Regions from separate parts of the Homo sapiens genome. Here regions 2 and 3 are each linked to region 1. Evidence: promoter capture Hi-C in human tissues and cell types (Jung and others, 2019). All regions are on one chromosome and are shown on one strand. Each heading gives the region's core, a stretch centred on a gene start or on the middle of the fragment in contact. The rest is flanking DNA. Distances are from core to core; before and after follow the strand shown. Region 1 holds the start of ZBTB21 (zinc finger and BTB domain containing 21). Region 2 has its middle 22 kb from the start of LINC01671. Region 3 overlaps SLC37A1 (solute carrier family 37 member 1).

Region 1 (4,123 bases), core at 1,624-4,123:
GGTGCTGGCTGGCAAATCCAACATCACCTACACAAGTGGTGTCAACAAAACCTGCACCAGGTGTTATGGGAGCACAGAGGAGGGAGCACCAACCCTAGATACAGCTGAGAAGATGCCAGTCAGGTGGGGTGGGGAGGTGGTGGAATCCTGGAGGAAGAAACACCAATCAAGATGAAATTATCCCATTAAAACAGGGTGGTAGTGGTGGGGGCAATAGCTCAGGCAGAAGGGACAACACACTTGAAGCCCAGAAGCCCAGAGGCAAGAGACAGAGCAAGACTAGTTTAGAGGCCTGCATGTCAGAGTGGAGGTGGGGGAAAGATGGGAGAGGCTGGGCCAAGTCCTCAGGCACTTGTGCGTTGTGGTTTGAACTCTCACCTAGGCAATGGAGAGCCATTAAACCCTATGCAAGGGAGTGGCATGATCCCTTTTGCTGTTTAGAAAAATCGCTTTGGCTGTAATGTGAGAGTGGATTAAAGGAGGAAACCTGGAGGCTGGGAGAGCAGTTAAGCGGTTACGTTACCAGAGAAACACTGAGGAGGTCGGACGGACAGGACTTGGGGATAGACCCAATACTGGAAGTGAGGGAGGAGCCCACCATGGTGCCCACATTCCTGGCTCCAGCAACTGGGCATATGTTCCAAGCATGGATGAGACTGCATAGGGTGTGTGTGCCAAGAAACCCAGTGCGAGCATGGGCAGGGGCAGAAGGGCCAACACAGCCGGCCCAGGAGGAGCAGTCAGCCAAGAGGTGGGAAATCCAGGGAATGAGGCGTAACTGAAGCAATCACTGCTGAAGCAATTGGAAGCGTGTCACAAATCAAAGAGAGCAACTGAAAGATGCAACGGTTTCTGCCAGATTTGGCAGTCAGGTCAATTCCAGTGAAATGGTGAGGCCAAAAGCCTGATCATATAGCTCAAAGCAGAGACACCAATGTGTATCGTCCTGAGGAAGGTTGAAAAAACAAAAAACAAAACAAAACAAAAAAACAGCTAAGCAGGTGGCTAGAAAGGGATCGCTCAAGGGAGGCTGCTTCCAGCATGCGGTAAAGCCAGTACTAGTTTTCTCACCTATAAAACTAGGATAACAGCACACACTCCCCCAGCCTAATCACAGGGGAACCTAAAACTCAAGGTTCTTTTAAGACTTATAATCACTGTTGCCTTCTACCTTCAGAACAGTCACTTTGTGCTTTTCCACCATACAGTTCAAAATACAGACACTCTTTAGGCTGGGCATGGTGGCTCACACCTGTTATCCAAGCACATTGGGAGGCTGAGGCGGGTGGATTGCTTCAGACCAGGAGTTTGAAACCAGCCTGAGCAACATGGTGAAACTCCATCTCTACCAAAAATACAAAAATCAGCTAGGTGTGACGGATGCACCTATAGTCCCAGCTACTGCCGAGGCTGAGACGGGAGGATGGCTTGAGCCAGGGAGTGGAGGCTGCAGTGAGCTGAGATCATGCCACTGCACTCCAGCCTGGGACTGACAGAGACTCCATCTCAGGAAAAAAAAAAAAAAATTTAAAGTGTTTTAAAGTTGTAGGAGAAAATTTTTAGGTGCAAGATTCTTTATGTAAGACTAAGAGTCCTCTTAAAATTAGTCAAACTAATAATCTACAACAGAGCTGTTAATTTGGCAACAAATTTTTAATTTGTATCAATCTAATGTCTGTCTTTCACATACTTCCAAACATTACATAAATTATTTTACCTAGTGCATACAACTTTCAAAAACTGTATTTGGCAATTAACAGACCCCTGACAATTATTAACAGGGGTTTTACATCCCGGAGTTTGAGTGTCTGCGGGAGAACCGTCCCTGCAGGAGGCACTCCCCCTCCACCTGCGACCCGGGCTGGGAGAACGCGCGGAGGGCTCCCTTGAGCGGTCTCCGCCAGCGAGGCTTTCCTCCCGGTCGGTGTTGACAGTGTGGCATTTCTGTTATCTAATTTCTGGTTTTGACTGAAAGCGAAGTGAGTTTTCTCATCAGTGGAGTTGTAATATTTCTGCAAAAAAAAAAAAGATCACAGCCCTCCGATGAGCCGGGCACTATGCGAAGTCTCCGGCTGCCTGCGGGCCGCTGTGGACGCCCCGGCGGGGGTCAGGACCGACCCCCATCTGCGCGGCGAACGAGCCCGGACGCCCTGGCCGCGGCCGCCGGGTCCCCGCCCAGGGGCCAGGTGGCCAGGTTGCGTCGGGAGGAGGAAATGGAAGCGCTCTGAGCGACTAGCGAGCGGCAGGAGCCGCCTCCCGCGGGCTTTCCTCGCGGGCCGGGAGCGTCTGCCGCCGACCCGAGGACCGCAGGGCCCCGCTCGCCGCCCGCGCCCGTCAGAAAGCCGCGCGTCGCTCCCGTCGCTGTCGGGGTCGTCGGCTCGGGGAGTCGCCCGCCGTCCACCGGTGAACGGGAGCGCGTCCTCCCCTCCGAGGGACTAAGCGCTCGCGCCACGCATCCCGCCGCGCCGGAAGCGGGGACTACTGGCGGCCCAGCTGGGCAGGACCGCGGCCGAATGACCCGGGGCGACCCCGCAGCAAGGGCGCCTCCGGCAGGCGGCAAAGTCCCCTGAGAATCGGCGCGCTCCTCGCCGCGACGGACTCCACCCGGCCGGGGCGCTCAGCCTCCTCGCCGTGGCCCCCAGCCCGGCCGCCTCCCCTAACGGCCGCCGCAGGCTCCCCTCATGGACCGAGAGCGCGGGCTTGCAGCGCGGCAGCGTCCGTTCGGCGCGCGGCTCCGGGCAGGCCCGCCCTCCCCCGTCCCCCTGCGCCGCGAGGCCCCCCCCCCGCCCCGCCCTCCGGCGCCCGGCGCCCAATCAGAGTGCCGCGCACGTGACGAGCGATGCCTGCGATGACCTCATCCCTGGTGTGGGATGACGTCAAATTCAAGATGGATGGAATCACAGCGGCAGCGGCGGCTGCGGCGCGCGCGAGCCGAGTGTGAGCGGAAAGGGGCCCGGCGTCTGCCTCGAGACTGAAGACCGGTGAGTAACTGTCACGCCCCTAGCTCTAGGAGAACTGCGGGGCTCCTTGGGAGGCTACAGCCTCCCCGCAAAACGCGGCCTTTCCTGACGTAACTCTGAGGTGATTTCTCTCCTCTTTTTTCTCCACCAGCGGGTTGCGGGCTCCGAGCGCTTCTGCGCGTGCGCGGGACCTGGGCGCTCACCGAGCATGTCCCGGGTTCCCACGTAGCCGATTGTACCTTCACACTGCGCACGCTCCCTGCCAGCACTTGGCCTCGCCCTCGCGAATGCGCATGCTCCATTCCCTCACGGGCTTCACTCTTCACCCTGGCCGAGCTGCCCCTGGGGTAGGGGACACGCCTGGCCCAGGCGCGCGCCCCTCGCGCGGAGCGGTTGAAACGCCTCGTGGAGAAGGGCGCGTTCTCCTGTTCCGGGCAGGGGTTGGGGGCCGGCGGCCCGGGCCGCGGGGTGTGCGCGGAAGCTGGCCGGCGGCCTTGGGGACCCCGCACCTGCCGCGACCCGCCGCTCCCTTCACGGTCCGGGACCTAGCCCCGCCGCCCCGTCCTCGGCCCGGTGGCCGGAGCGTGACCGCTCGGTGCCCGCTGGACGCTCCCTCCCCGCCCCCGGCCCCTCCCGCGGACGCCTGGACCTCACAGCGCGTTTTTTTTCCTCCAGAGCCCCCGCAGACCTTGTCTGGGACTTCCCGGCGGTCCCGCAGAGCATAGCACCCTCCGCCGGCCAGGAGCCCTGCTGCTCGGCCGGCGACCGTCTCCCCGCTTGGAGGAGCCCCCTTCCCCCCGTCCGAGGTCCGCGGCTGGAGGGGCAGGGAGTCAAGACGCCACCCGTGCCGGCCTTAGAGACGCCCGCGGCAGCCCCGCCACATCTCTTCCCGGCTTTTCGGGAACACGCCCCGTAGTCCATCCTCAGCGGCTCCTGCTTTTCCATCCCAGCACACCGCTGGGGGCTCGCACTCTGCCCCCGGTTGCTATGCGGTCCCAGCCACGAGGGCTCTGCGGTTCGGGAGAATTCCGCAAGAGCGCGCGTTCGGAGGCGGGGTGTTTTTAGACAGGTGCCCCGGTGGGATTGCCTGACCGAGAGGACGGGGAAAGTTAGACTTCACACGGCCTGGGGTTTTTCCTTTCGTGCAAGCGCTCACAGCCCTG
Region 2 (4,123 bases), core at 883-3,382, 580 kb before region 1:
CCCCACAGCATGGGCCTGCAAGGTGGTCTGGAGGGCAGACACCGTCTCTCAGTCCTGCCCTGCCCCACTCCGCTGCACAGGGTGGTGTCTGGATGGTGGCAACTCTCAGCTTACGGGTTGCATGCAGCAAGCCTTGGCGTGGACGCGGTCACAGACCTGAGAGGCCGCAGCATTCCCTCCAGCACCCCGCTCCAAGGATCCCAATTCAGGCGGGAGTCCTGGATTTTGGCTCCAGCGTAGTTTGGGAGCCCTGGACGTGCTCAGCCCAGCCTGCTTCCCACGCTGAGCTTGCAAATGGCTGGGGAGGCTTTGGAAGAGAGCCGGGTCTTTCCTGCAGGGTGACAGCAGTGCCATCAACTTGCCGCCCAGTTGAAGGCCCTCCAGGAGTTCCCTATCCTGATTGAACCCACCCCAGCTCCTGTGAGTCACTGGCACTTGGGTGGTTTTCTTGCCTTTCATATAATTTGGAGGCATGTATTTCTCGTTTCCTCGGCAGTCTGGAGACATTTTTTTTTCATTTCGTACTGCAGTTTCTAAAAATAACGTTAGTGGTAACTTCAATTTCTTACTCATTTCTCTCCTCCTTCAGTAGGAGGCGAGGGGATTTAGAGTCCTGCTGCTGAGGGGATGCCAGGGGACAGAGCACCCGTGGCTTGTTCCTCTCACAAGGGTCCACCCTCCTGCCTCATCCCGGTGGCATGTGTGTGATCACCTGGGGACAGTCCAGGCAGGGCTCGTTCCCTCCTGCAATGCCACCAGGCACAACCAGCATCCCCAGAGGGCTCTGATAGGACCCTGATCCTGAGGGCTGCGCTGTGCCAAGTCACGTGGCCTGTCGGGTCGTCAGTGGCTTCGTTCGTCTGGAAAGTGGAGAACCCTGGTGATCTTCATCCATAGAACAGGAGGCTGGACAAATGGCTGTGTAACACGGCAGCATTGTTTGGGTGCAATGGTATGATCCAATAATTTGCTTAAAAATACGTAATAAGGCTGGGCATGGTGGCTCACGCCTGTAATCCCAGCACTTCGGGAGGCTGAGGCAGGCAGATTACTTGAGTCCAGGAGTTTGAGACCAGCCTGGCCAACATTGTGAAGCCAACATCATGAAACCCCATCTCTACAAAAATACAAAAATTAGCCAGACATGGCGGTGTGAGCCTGTAGTCCCAGCTGCTCGGGAGGCTGAGGCAGGAGAATCGCTTGAACCTGGGAGGCAGAGGTTGCAGTGAGCCGAGATGGCGCCACTGCACTCCAGCCTGGGTAACAGAGTGAGACACCAGCTCAAAAAAAAAAAAAAAAAAAAAAAAGCAAACCATATGAGATAAAATGAAGGCTTACATGGTAGATTTGAAGCAGGAAAGGCAGGCTGTTGACAACTGTCAAGGCTGAGGGATGGGATATGGTGCATATTAAGCTGTCTATTTTTATGTACCCATGAGAATTCCCATAGTAAGAAAATGTGAAAAGAAAATCATAAAACGAAATCACAAGCAAGGCTGGTTTGTTGCAGCCTTTTTTGGGTTGGATTTGGGTGAGTCTAGGCTTCCCAGCAAGCTCGAGGAAAGGACAAAGGTCGGGCTTGTGGCCTGGGTCCCGGCCCTGAGCGTGGAGTCGAGTGAGGCTTGGCTCCCACCCCTGAGCCGTGGACCTGGTACCTGGGTCCTGACCCTGGTCAGCCACAGCATGGCTTTGGGAGCTGAAGCAGGTCACCCTGTGAGGCTGTTTCTCCACTTTTTACTAAAAGGCGGGGACAGCGAGGCCTCAGAAGGAGCCCTGGGAGGAGGGGGTGGCGGATGGGTGGGGAGTGGGTGCCCCACGAATATCCTCTTGCCCCCATCCTCCCTCCTCGGCCAGCCCCTGTCCCCGGAGCCCCCACTCCTGCCCTCCCCTTCTATCCTAAAGCCCAGGCTGGCTCTGGATACATTTGATTTCTGATTTGTCATTAAATGTGACAAGCGAAGCCAGAGGACCCTCTGACACCCAGGACTGAGTGCAGCCCCAGGAGGGGCTTGCCGGGGTGTGGTGGAGGGGGCAGTGTGGCCCAGCTGGGGCGGGGGTGGGGCCAGGGCCGGGGTCTCCCGATCTCTGGATATTTGAGCTGCGGACCGGACAGGATACGCTCCTCCACGGGGAGGGCCTCAGTGAGCCGGGGCTGGGGGGCCCTCTTGTGGCAACAGAGGGCCTGGGTTCTAGGTAACAAAGCAAAATCAAAATCTGGGAGCGGCCTTTCGGGAGCCCAGGCAGACGCAGCTCACCGGTCCCCTGAGGCCACCAGCCCAGCAGGCTGCAGGGAGCCTGGATCTGCAGGCGGTGGCCGAGGCCATGGTACAGCCCACCCAGCGTTCACCCTGCGGTCCGTGGCGATGGCCGAGGTCCTGGAGTACTGATGAGAGGTGCCCTCCCAGGTGCCAAAAGGAGCTTCTGCAGACACAGTTCCGCGTGCAGGGCTCCCGGCAATCGAAGTGCAGGGCCGGCCTGGGCCAGAGCACAGGTGAGTGCAGACATAGGCTGCCTTTACAAAAGGCACAGAGCCGTGGCCGGAACCCCTGGGTCTGGTCTCCACGGCTGCTTTTGGGGCCTTAGTTTCCTTATCTGTCACATGGCCTCTGAAGCTGCTGTCAGCTCTAAATTGTGATTATTGGACCAAAGTTGAACCTGTTACTCTTCTCTGAGAAGTGGCTTTCCCTCTGGTCCTCCCATTTCTGACTCTTCTCACTTACTGCAATTTTCCAACGGCACCTCCCTCCAACCCCTTCAGTCCCCATTGTGAGAGTCACGTCCTAGGGCTCATCATTGGCCATGCCCGCCGGTCTCCAGAACCTCCGCTCCCAGGACCTCACCCACCTCCCATCTGTCCAGATCAGCCCCCAGCAAGCTTTCCGGCCACTGGGACCACTCATTCCCCACTCGCTCCATCATCCACCTCTTCACCAGCCTGAGACCAGGCTTGGGTTTCCTGGGGCACCAGCCTCGCCTCTCCTTTCACGCTCCTGTCCCTTGTCCCTCCAGCCTTAGTGGTATGGAAAACCCTGATCCTGGTGAAATTGGTGAAATCAGTGACCCTCTGTGGCCTGTGCTCCTGAACTTCCTTCCTGGACCTCCTCTAGGGTCTGGAATGGCCTTTCCTTAGATCTGCAGGGTTCATTCCATCACACCCTTATCCCATCCTCGAAGACGACCGTCAATACACAATCATACACCCCCCGCTCCTGCCCCAGACTGTTTACTGTTCCTTTGTTAGTCGTCTATTGCTTCCCCTAGACTCGACTCCATGGGGCCGATTTGGCTCTCCCGGTTTATTACCGTATCCCTGCGCTTATTCTCAGGGCTTGGCAATACGAGTGTGCTGAATGAATGAACAAGCAAATGAATGCTGCTCTTCTACCATCAGGTTTGGAATCATGGCTCTGGATTTGGGTAAATTTTACAACACCAGGCACCCAAGAGGTGTCTTCATGGGGCTGGCTGCAGAGTGGGCCGTTCTGAAGGCAGAGCTTCTAGAGCTGGTGACCTTGCTGTCCCTAAGGCTGTGGTAGGATGCGGGGCTCACACAGAGTGGCTGCAGCAACTCTTGGGAAAATGTGTTAAAAATACAACTGTCCCAGGAAGAAACAGCCTTGGAATAGAGTGTTTACATTCTTTTTGGTACTCGCCTTGACTTTTAAAATGAACTTAATTACTTCTGATTTTAAAGATAAGGCAGGTCCCTGTAAAACAGGTAGACAATGCAGAAAGACGATGCATCCTCCAGGTTCAGCCAGAGGAACAGAACCAGTTGGAGATCACACGCACACGTGCACACACACGCACACACACATGCACACACATGCATGCACACACACGCACACGTGCACACACATGCACGCACACACACGCACACACACGCACACGTGCACACACATGCACACACATGCACATGTGCATGCACACATGGATGCACACACGGACACATGCATGCATACACACATGCACACTCATGCACGGACACACACATGGACACACACATGCACACACACACACATGCACATGTGCACACACAGATTCACTTCAAGGAACTGGCTTATGTAACTGTGGGGGCTGGCTAGGCAAGTCTGAAATCCAGGGCAGGTGTCAGGCTGGAAAC
Region 3 (4,123 bases), core at 647-3,146, 520 kb before region 1:
CTCTCCCCCACAGACAACAGCACCTGCCCACGGCCAGCCTCCTGCGATGAGTCACAGGTGCCACGTGAAATGCATTATACACACTCAGGGACAGACACGCAAATGCTCCACTCATGAAGGATACAGAAATAGATGGAGGAGCTTCTTGGTCATTGTTTACTTCTCAAAAATGGAATCATTCTATACATCCTTATGCACATGTTAACTTCTTACTCAAAGTACCTCCTGGAAATGTTTCTGAGTCAACTGGTTTGCCTGTGATGAATTCTTTTAGGGACCTGCACATTTCATAATACGGACTTGTGATAATTTATTCAAACTTTTACCTACTTATTAGGTTCCCTTGATATCCAGCATTGTTTTTTTTTCCTTTTTGCTTTTTTTGGTCACTACAAAGCTGCCATAAAGATGCTTATGAAGATATTCCTAAGTAAGGTGCTTTTATTTTTAGGGTGAAATTCCCAGAAGTATGTCTGAAGGCTGTAGTGTTTTTTATTTCACTGGGTGTCACCAAAAGGCGCTAACGCTTGACATCCCATCAAGAACGCATGAAAACTCCTCTCCCCTCACGACCAGTGAATAGCGCTTACTGCCCTGGGCAATGCTGTGCCAGCCACTGAGCACAGTGTTGCCTTAATTTGCATATGGAATACCGGCAGACTCGAACACCATTCACATATTTCCTGGCGATCTGAATTCCGTGTCTGTAAACTGCTTGTTCATCCCCCTTGCCCGTTGTTTCTTTGGGTTTCCTAACTTCACACTCACTCCTACGATAAACATAATTTTCTTCTTGGATTTGTACTTTTTGTATTTTACATTCATGTCTTTAATCCATTTATTTTATTTTACTTTTTTGAGATGGAGTCTCACTCATGTCACCCAGGCTGGAGTGCGGTGGTGTGGTCTCGGCTCACTGCAACATTCGCCTCCCAGGTTCAAGCGATTCTCATGCGTCAGTCTCCCAAGTAGCTGGGATTACAGGTGCCCGCCACCATGCCCAGCTCACTTTTGTACATTTAGTAGAGATGGTCAGGCTGGTCTCGAACTGCTGACCTCAGGTAATCCACCTGCCTCGGCCTCCCAAAGTGCTGGGATTACAGGTGTGAGCCACAGTGCCCGGGCCATTTGTTTTTATAAAATAGGGATTCAACATTTATTTCTTCCTGACGAATAACCAGTTGTGCCGACACCATTTATTAAATTTATTAAATAAGCTCTGTCAAATATTCCATATTTTCTAATCTATTCTACTGACTTTTTTGTCTATTCTCATGTAATATCATAATTTGATTATGGTATTAAAATATGTTAATCTTTTGCATATTTTCATATCATAAAATGTTATCTTTACACTTTTCTTGATAATTCCTGGACATTCTTTCATACAAACTTTAAGATTATTTTATTCAATTAAAAAAAACCCTGCTAAGATTTTCACTGGAGTTGCATTTTATTTAAATATTAACACTGGGAGAATTGGAACTTTCCAAATAACAAGTTTCCCACCCATAGTACATACTTCCAGCTTTTCAGACTTTGTTTTCTGTCTGCCACTGAGGATTATTTTATTTCATTTTTTTTTAGATGGAGTTTCACTTTGTCGCCCAGGCTGGAGGGCAATGGTGCGCTCTCGGCTCACTGCAAACTTCGCCTCCCGGATTCAAGCTATTCTCCTGCCTCAGCCTCCCCAGTAGCTGGGATTACAGGCGCCTGTCACCATGCCTGGTTAATTTTTTTTGTATTTTTAGTATAGATAGGGTTTCACTATGTTGGCCAGTTTGGTCTTGAACTCCTGACCTCAGGTGATCCGCCCACCTCGGCCTCCCAAAGTGCTGGGATTACAGGCGTGAGCCACTGCGCCTAGCCAGTTTTCTCCTTTTAAGTCCTGTGTGTCCAGAGAGGGGTGGGCACACTCACATTCAAATCAATGCTGCCATCCCCCTGGCTCCAGGGACCCCTGCAGTTTAAGCTTCTCCGGGAAGCCTCTGCTTTCAGGTTTCTTTTCTGGCCCAGTCCAGGTGAAAAGAGCTCGCACTAAGATCTCTGCTGGGAGTCAGACTCACCTGTCTACCAGCTTGGGCAGACGCTTGCCTTGAGTCCTGAGGCTAGGCCACAGCTGGAGCAGCAGATAGAAGGGACAGGGTTGCACTTATAACACCACTATCCTCCCAGCCCTGGTTTTATCATCATCATCGAGAAAAATACAATTAATCAGCAGTGATCAAAGGTAAGTCTAAACATTCCATTTAACTAACTTAAATGTGACCTGGTGTGCCGTGTCATTCTATAAATGACATAACAGAATAAGACTCACTTTCTAATTCACAGCCTCTGGTTCAATTTCAAGTAAGCAAATACATTTTGCTTTGGTTTTGCTTACAATATTCTGGGAAATGCAGGCTATAAATAATCACTCAACTGTTTTGTGGGTCAACAGAATCACTACTACTTTCAGTTTCGTTGATGCCATTTATATCATGAGCTCAAGCACACGGGCGCTTCAGAAGGCACTATAAAGTTTAGTTTTGATGTGGTGTGATGTTCTGATCTATCTTGAAAGGTAAAGAAACCCACAGGATTCAGCGTCAAGCCAATCCATGCCCAGGCACATCGCAGCTGCTAGGTCAGGAAATCTGTGCGTTTAGGAGGCTCTGAGGGTGATGCTGGGACTGTACTCAGGTAATTAAACCCGGACAAACCCTGAGGCACAGAGAGGATGAGTAGGGGCCCTGGAGGCAGCCTGACCCACAGGGAATTCTCGAGTGTGTGGCAGCCCTGCCTGGGGAACGAAGACCCGAGCCTCAATTTCCTCACAGGGGCACTCGCAGGGTTGCTGTGAGGATCACAGGGGTAATGTATGTGGCAGTTTGTCATACCCCAGGGCTCTGTAAGCGGCAGTTATTTATATTGTTACTTATGACACTGAACTAAGAGCTGACCCTGACGCCGCCTCCTCAGAAGCCCTAAGTCTTGAGTGGCCTGGACACCACTACACACGAGAGTCAGGGGCGGGGGCTTTGAGATGGACCACCAGGAAAGCCGGGAGAGGGACCGGGACAGGGCTCCCACTTGCTCCTGGCTCACAGGGGCCCTCATAGTCATCAGGTGGACCCCAACAGCTGTGGCCTGACAAAGATTCCCCCAAAGGCCAGCCCACCTTACACGCTACATCTGCCCCAACAGCCCCCCAGCCCAACAGGTGGTGCCTTCATGGAGATGCCCATCCCTGCACGTAGCACTCAAGGCAGTTCTCCCACCTGTAAAGCTGTTTTTCTTCCCCTACAATCCACACCCAACCTTTCTAGGTCAATCCTGAAACCCCACACAAGCTCCCCAACTACACCAGATCCTTCAACTCCAACACGCTCACCAAGTCTCTTCAATAGTCACTTCCATCTTTATAATTTACCATTTTCTTGAGCTGTTTGTATATTTCTCTAACCAGAAAGACAAGAAGTAGTAGTATTCAGATTTATAATGACTGGTTACTGGTACTGATTTGAGAGTTTCTTGTCAAGCGGATGAGTGTTTAAGGCCCACCACCTCTTTTCATATTCTTCTCTCTTAAAAACCACATTTTCAAAGGTCTGCAAACGTTTTCCACAGTCAACAACTTGAGAGGCATGGAAGTTTCTTGCTTATCAGGGGCCAAGGGGGAATTTTAGAATCTTTTGGGTAAATGAATGTTTAACATCCCCTGAAAGCTGCTGGAGAGTGGGGAACCTAGGACCGTCACAAAACAGCCAGCCTCTGCATTGCCTCTGCCGACCAGGGCTGCAGAGGGCAGCCACCCAGGGCTCAGCCACCGGCAGGAGTGGAGGAAGCACAGCTCCAAAGGTCACAGAATTGCAGTCCTGGAGCTGGGTCCCTGCCAACTCCCGGAGAGTGAGCGAGGGGCCACTGGGCTGTGAATGCACTGTCTCTGGCAGTGGATGATTTCCTCGTTCTTCTACGATAGAGACTCTAATGCCTCTCAGGCCCCTGATGGTCTACAGGCCGGGTGACGTAATCCCAATGAGGGTAAGAAAATTATTCCTGCTTTTCTCCAGGTTATAACTGGTGATTATGTAGGCTTGTCTGCTTTAATCTTCTTTTCTCAAAGTCTAGTAGAACACCTGCT

The links. Contacts are between HindIII fragments. The study calls those that stand out against the background at their distance.
Region 2: a contact is called between a fragment that was not itself captured here and the fragment with the promoter of ZBTB21 in region 1, in 1 of the 25 tissues and cell types used here (spleen).
Region 3: a contact is called between a fragment that was not itself captured here and the fragment with the promoter of ZBTB21 in region 1, in 1 of the 25 tissues and cell types used here (hippocampus).

What each region holds. Positions count from the first base shown.
Region 1 is chr21:42,009,110-42,013,232 of GRCh38, reverse strand. ZBTB21 (zinc finger and BTB domain containing 21) reads left to right here and starts at 2,873. Exons shown (of 3, transcript NM_001098402.2): 1 at 2,873-2,981. ZNF295-AS1 (ZNF295 antisense RNA 1) reads right to left here and starts at 4,039. Exons shown (of 2, transcript NR_119384.1): 1 at 3,649-4,039. RefSeq lists silencers at 2,061-2,800, 3,241-3,550, 3,591-3,700. The HindIII fragment of the contact is 7,901 bases long and covers 1-4,123 here.
Region 2 is chr21:42,591,472-42,595,594 of GRCh38, reverse strand. No RefSeq gene overlaps it. Among named protein-coding and RNA genes, the nearest start is that of LINC01671, 22 kb to the left of the region's middle. RefSeq lists enhancers at 3,395-4,123, 1,383-4,123. The HindIII fragment of the contact is 3,564 bases long and covers 351-3,914 here.
Region 3 is chr21:42,526,290-42,530,412 of GRCh38, reverse strand. All of the region lies in intron 3 of SLC37A1 (solute carrier family 37 member 1), which reads right to left. It overlaps LOC107987299 (a long non-coding RNA gene), which reads left to right. Exons shown (of 2, transcript XR_007067878.1): 2 at 1,588-4,123. Among named protein-coding and RNA genes, the nearest start is that of SLC37A1, 14 kb to the right of the region's middle. The HindIII fragment of the contact is 7,112 bases long and covers 1-4,123 here.